Linked DNA regions of Homo sapiens: region 1 is linked to region 2. Evidence: promoter capture Hi-C in human tissues and cell types (Jung and others, 2019). All regions are on one chromosome and are shown on one strand. Each heading gives the region's core, a stretch centred on a gene start or on the middle of the fragment in contact. The rest is flanking DNA. Distances are from core to core; before and after follow the strand shown. Region 1 overlaps PACS1 (phosphofurin acidic cluster sorting protein 1). Region 2 holds the start of RCE1 (Ras converting CAAX endopeptidase 1).

Region 1 (2,700 bases), core at 25-2,524, 670 kb before region 2:
TCCCAGGTTCACGCTATTCTCCTGCCTCAGCCTCCCGAGTAGCTGGGACTATAGGCGCCCACCACCACGCCCCGCTAATTTTTTGTATTTTTAGTAGAGACGGGGTTTCACCATGTTAGCCAGGATGGTCTCGATCTCCTGACCTTGTGATCCGCCCGCCTCGGCCTCCCAAAGTGCTGGGATTACAGGCTTGAGCCACCGCGCCCGGCCTCATTCCATTTTTCTAAACTATGCATTCGAAAGATAGACATTCAACTTTTATTTTCTTAGTTTACTCTCAAGCTTTGAATGTGAATACTTAAGAGTTTAAAGTTAGTCAATTTCCATTCTCTTCTGAAACAATTAAAGGCCCTAAAAAATGCTTTAATTCAGTCAGTTCCTCCCACCACGCTTGCCGTACCGTTTACTGTGCGTAAATCAGACATTGCCATTCTTGTTTTATAAAAGCAATGTTTGTTTAAATTTCCCTATATTTTTACAGTTTTCTTTGTCCATCATTTATTTTTCTATCCTTGATCTTCTTTCTGGGACCTTTCCTTACTTTTACGGTATATCCTTAAGACACTTCATGAAATGTGTGAGCCAGCCTCCACGGTCTCCCTTATGACTGTGGCTCTCTGTGACTCACACGCCCACACCGAAGAGGGCTGACCTGTGTAAGCATTGGAACGTTGCAGCAGTGATGGAGCGTGACTTCTGAGGCTGGGTCATAAAATACGTTGCACCTTTTTGCCTTGCTCTTTCTTGGGCCACTCACTGTGGGATGCCGGCTGCCATGTCATGAGGTTATCAAGCAGTCCTGGGAAGATTCCATGTGGAGAGGAACTGAGGCTCCCTGTCAACTGCCAGTACAAACTTGCCAGCCTTGCAAGGCAGCCACACGGGCAGCAGATCCTGCAGCCCCCTCAAGTGACTGTAGCCCCAGCCACCAACTGGATGGCAACCTCACAAGAGATCCTGAGCTAGGACCACCTAGCCCAGCTGCTTCTGAATCTCTGACACACAGAAACTGTGAGATAATAAATGTGTTTTGCAGCCAGGTGCGGTGGCTCACATCTCAGCACTTTGGGAGGCCGAGGCAGCCAGATCACAAGGTCAAGAGATCGAGACCATCCTGGCCAACATGGTGAAACCCCGTCTCTACTAAACATACAAAAATTAGCTGGGCGTGGTGGCGCGTGCCTGTAGTCCCAGCTACTCAGAAGGCTGAGGCAGGAGAATCGCTTGAACCCGGGAGGCGGAGGTTGTAGTGAGCTGAGATCACACCACTGCACGCCAGCCTGGTGACACAGCGAGACTCTGTCTCAAAAAAAAAAAAAAAAAAGTGTTATCAGTATTGTTACACAGCAGTAATTAATATACATTAGTGAGAGTATTCTGGTAGTAAACTCTGTTTTTATCTTAAAATGTTTTTTGATTTTGGTTTTTTTTTTTTGTTTTTTTTTGTAGAGACAGGGTCCTGCTATGTTGCTCAGTCTGGTCTTAAACTCCTGGGCTCAAGCAATCCTCCCACTTCACCCTCCCAAGGTGCTGACATTACAGGCATAAGCCACCACATCCAGCCATCTGAAAATGTCTTTAATTAATGCCCATTCCTAAAATATATTTTATCTATATATACAATTCTGTATTCACAATTATTTTCTTTCAGCATATTGAAGACATTTTTTATTTTCTTCTGAGTTCCATTATTGCTGTTAAAAGTCCATTGTCAAATAAAAGACTTGTATCTAGACTATGTAAAAAACCTAACACTCAGCCGGGCGCAGTGGCTCACGCCTGTAATCCTAGCACTTTGGGAGGCCGAGGCAAGCGGATCACTTGAGCTCAGGAGTTCGAAACCAGCTTGGCCATCATGGTGAAACCCTGTCTCTACTAAAAAATACAAAAAATTAGCTGGGCATGGTGGTGTGTGCCTGTAATCCCAGCTACTTGGGAGGCTGAGGCAGGAGAATCGCTTGAACCCGGGAGGCAGAAGTTGTAGAGAGCCAAGATCATGCCACCGCACTCCAGCCTGGGCGACAGAGCGAAACTCCATCTCAAAAAGAAAAAGAACCTAACACTCAACAAACACCTCAGTTTAAAAATGGGCAAAAGATTCGGGCCAGGCGTGGTGGCTCACACCTGTAATCCCAGCACTTTGGGATGCCAAGGTGGGCAGAACACCTAAGGTCAGGAGTTCGAGACCAACTTGGCCAACATGGCGAAACCCTGTCTCTACTAAAAATACAAAAATTAGCTGGCCTGGTGGCACGCGCCTGTAATCCCAGCTACTCAGGAAGCTGAGGCATGAGAATCACTTGAACCTGGGAGGTGGAGGTTGCAGTGAGTCGAGATCGTGCCATTGCACTCCAGCTGGGCAACGGAGCAAGACTCTGTCTCAAAAAAAAAAAGGCAAAAGATTTGAATAGAGATTTTACCAAAGAAGATATGCCAAATAAACACTTGAAATGATGCTCAAAATCATTAGTCGCTTGAGAAAGGCAAATTAGTCACGAGGGAAATCCAAATTAAAACCACATTAAATAAAATAACAAAAAAATCAAAAAACCGTAATAAGATAACACTTACTGAATGACCTTAATCAGAAAAGCAGACAATAATAAATGGTGGTGAGGATATAGAGAAACAAGAACCCTCATACATTGCTGGTAGGAATGTAAAATGGCATAGCCACTTTGGAAAATACTTTTGACAGTT
Region 2 (2,700 bases), core at 143-2,642:
TTAGCCGGTGTGGTGGCATGCGCCTGTGGTTCCTGGTACTCTGGAAGCTGAAGCTGAGGCAGTAGGATCGCTTGAGCCCAGGAGGTCGAGGCTGCAGTGAGCCAGGACTGAGCCACTGCACTCCAGCCTGGGCAACAGAGCAAGACCTTGTCTCAAAAAAACAAAAGGTCAGCTCAGGTATCTCCTCATGGAAACCCTTCTTCACATCCAGAGGTGGTCGGCTTCCTTCTCTATTCTAACCCTGGGCTTTGTACACAGGTCTGCATCCCCTCCTAGCATCTGTGAGCTTCTCTCAGGGAAAAGCTCATTGATCTGCATCCCCAAGACCTGCTGGGGAAGAATCTATCCATCTAAACTCGCTTTAATTTGACAAATGAATCAGTTAAGAGTAGGAAAGCTGCCTATGGGCACTGCTCAATGCAACGTGAGCAACAAAGGGAGACAGAACTGAGGCCAGAAAGGTGAGGGGGGACAGAGGCTGGCAGGGAGGGGAGCTTGTCAGTGCAGACTCCAGGAAGAATCTATACAGAAAGTTACTGAGCGGCCTGAGTCCCCCAAGTGAGGGCTCGGGACAATCTCCCGCCTGGGTGAGAGAATAGGGAGACCCTGAAACGTCTCTGCAGCCTCGGGCTGCTCCAGAAGCGCCCACAGCTGCAGGGTTTTGGTGTGGATGGGACCTGCTGACAGGGATGCGGTGGGAAGAGCCCCTCGGCGCCCGTTCTCCCAGGCTTCCCCTTGGCCAAGGGTGCTCCTAGCACAGGGCCATGAAAGTAAGATGAAGAGGCTTGTTTTTCTCCTAGATACCAGCGGGCAAGCAGAAAACAAGAGGCTCAAGAGGGGCAGCCCCCGCATAGAGGAGATGCGAGCTCTGCGCTCTGCCAGGGCCCCGAGCCCGTCAGAGGCCGCCCCGCGCCGCCCGGAAGCCACCGCGGCCCCCCTCACTCCTAGAGGAAGGGAGCACCGCGAGGCTCACGGCAGGGCCCTGGCGCCGGGCAGGGCGAGCCTCGGAAGCCGCCTGGAGGTAACTGGGCGAGGGCCGCGCAGGGAAGGGCTCAGCAGGAGGTGCAGGCCACGGGCCGCTGCTGAGAGGTCCTCACCCCGGGCCCCCTTGTTCCCGCAGGACGTGCTGTGGCTGCAGGAGGTCTCCAACCTGTCAGAGTGGCTGAGTCCCAGCCCTGGGCCCTGAGCCGGGTCCCCTTCCGCAAGCGCCCACCGATCCGGAGGCTGCGGGCAGCCGTTATCCCGTGGTTTAATAAAGCTGCCGCGCGCTCACCAAGTCCTCTTCCGCGTCTGCTTCCGCGTCGGGCCCGGGCGGGGCGGGGCGGGGCGTGGAGCCGCGCCGCGGCCTGACGTCACCCACACCTCCCTGGGACTGCGTCACTGGTGCGCGCCGCGGGTCAGGGCGCAATGGCGGCGCTGGGCGGGGATGGGCTGCGACTGCTGTCGGTGTCGCGGCCGGAGCGGCCGCCCGAGTCGGCGGCGCTGGGCGGCCTGGGCCCCGGGCTGTGCTGCTGGGTGTCAGTGTTCTCCTGCCTCAGCCTCGCCTGCTCCTACGTGGGCAGCCTCTACGTCTGGAAGAGCGAACTGCCCAGGTGCGGGGGCTGCGCGCGACCGGAATCCGCGCCCTGCGGGCGGAGCTTGGGCGAGCCGGGGGCGGGTCCGTGCTCATGGGCAGCCGCGGGCCCCCTGAACTTACTGTCCCCTCCGTAGGGACCATCCCGCGGTCATCAAGCGACGCTTCACCAGCGTCCTGGTGGTGTCCAGTCTCTCACCCCTGTGCGTGCTGCTCTGGAGGGAACTCACAGGCATCCAGGTGCGAAGGAGGCGGGGCAAAGGGCAACGGCGGTGAGAGCTCAGGGGTCTTTAGGGGAGGAAGCAAAACTGATGCCCCCTTTCCTGTGGCTCAGCCAGGCACATCCCTGCTCACCCTGATGGGCTTCAGGCTGGAGGGCATTTTCCCAGCGGCGCTGCTGCCCCTGTTGCTGACCATGGTGAGTGCTCCTGCTGTATTTTTTCTTCTGGTCTTTGTTATCAGCCTGATGGGCAGTGCCGTGGACTCTTGTTTTTGGTTTTTGGTTGATGGGAGACAGGACTTTTGAGATGGCCCCAGGGTCCTCCGGTATGCATGGTCTGGAAATCGTGGCTGGAGAGGATTTCAAGCTTGGAGTCTCAGGGAGCATGGGCAAAGGTCTGGGCAAAAGCGGTGGGTTATGGTGAAAGTGTTTTCTTGCCCTCAGATTCTTTTCCTGGGCCCACTGATGCAGCTCTCTATGGATTGCCCTTGTGACCTGGCAGATGGGCTGAAGGTTGTCCTGGGTGAGTCTTAAAGGCTGAAGGGAAAAGTAGGCACAGGCAGTCCAGGACATTGGGGCAGGGAGTCAGCGGGCTCAGGGTGTGATCTGGACACGTGAAATGTCATCTCTCTGGGTGTGTTTTCTCATCAGTAAAATGGAAACATAGAGCTAGGTGGCCTCTAAGGGTTGATTGCCAACGTCCAAGGAGTTCCCTGGGAACCCCCAGCAGTATTTGGTGTGGATCAGAGAGCACTGTCCCCTGCTTCCCCAACCAGAGCTAGTCTTGCTTAAATTTTGGTGTCTCCAGAGTTTACTTCCAGGATGCCCTTGCCTCAGCTAATGCCTTCCATTCAGGTCATCTCAAGACATTGGGTTTATGTTGGGTCCACACCCCCGTCCTCAGCAG

Evidence for each region. Contacts are between HindIII fragments. The study calls those that stand out against the background at their distance.
Region 1: a contact is called between a fragment that was not itself captured here and the fragment with the promoter of RCE1 in region 2, in 1 of the 25 tissues and cell types used here (liver).

Annotation. Positions count from the first base shown.
Region 1 is chr11:66,171,669-66,174,368 of GRCh38, forward strand. The region is part of intron 1 of PACS1 (phosphofurin acidic cluster sorting protein 1); the gene reads left to right. Among named protein-coding and RNA genes, the nearest start is that of KLC2, 85 kb to the right of the region's middle. The HindIII fragment of the contact is 8,093 bases long and covers 1-2,700 here.
Region 2 is chr11:66,842,049-66,844,748 of GRCh38, forward strand. It overlaps RCE1 (Ras converting CAAX endopeptidase 1), which reads left to right and starts at 1,393. Exons shown (of 8, transcript NM_005133.3): 1 at 1,393-1,592; 2 at 1,711-1,813; 3 at 1,908-1,991; 4 at 2,238-2,316. The coding sequence starts at 1,408. TOP6BL (TOP6B like initiator of meiotic double strand breaks) reads left to right here. Exons shown (of 15, transcript NM_001302084.2): 14 at 801-1,021; 15 at 1,121-1,468. The coding sequence ends at 1,186. RefSeq lists silencers at 934-1,073, 1,184-1,623 and an enhancer at 1,264-1,970. The HindIII fragment of the contact is 26,172 bases long and covers 1-2,700 here.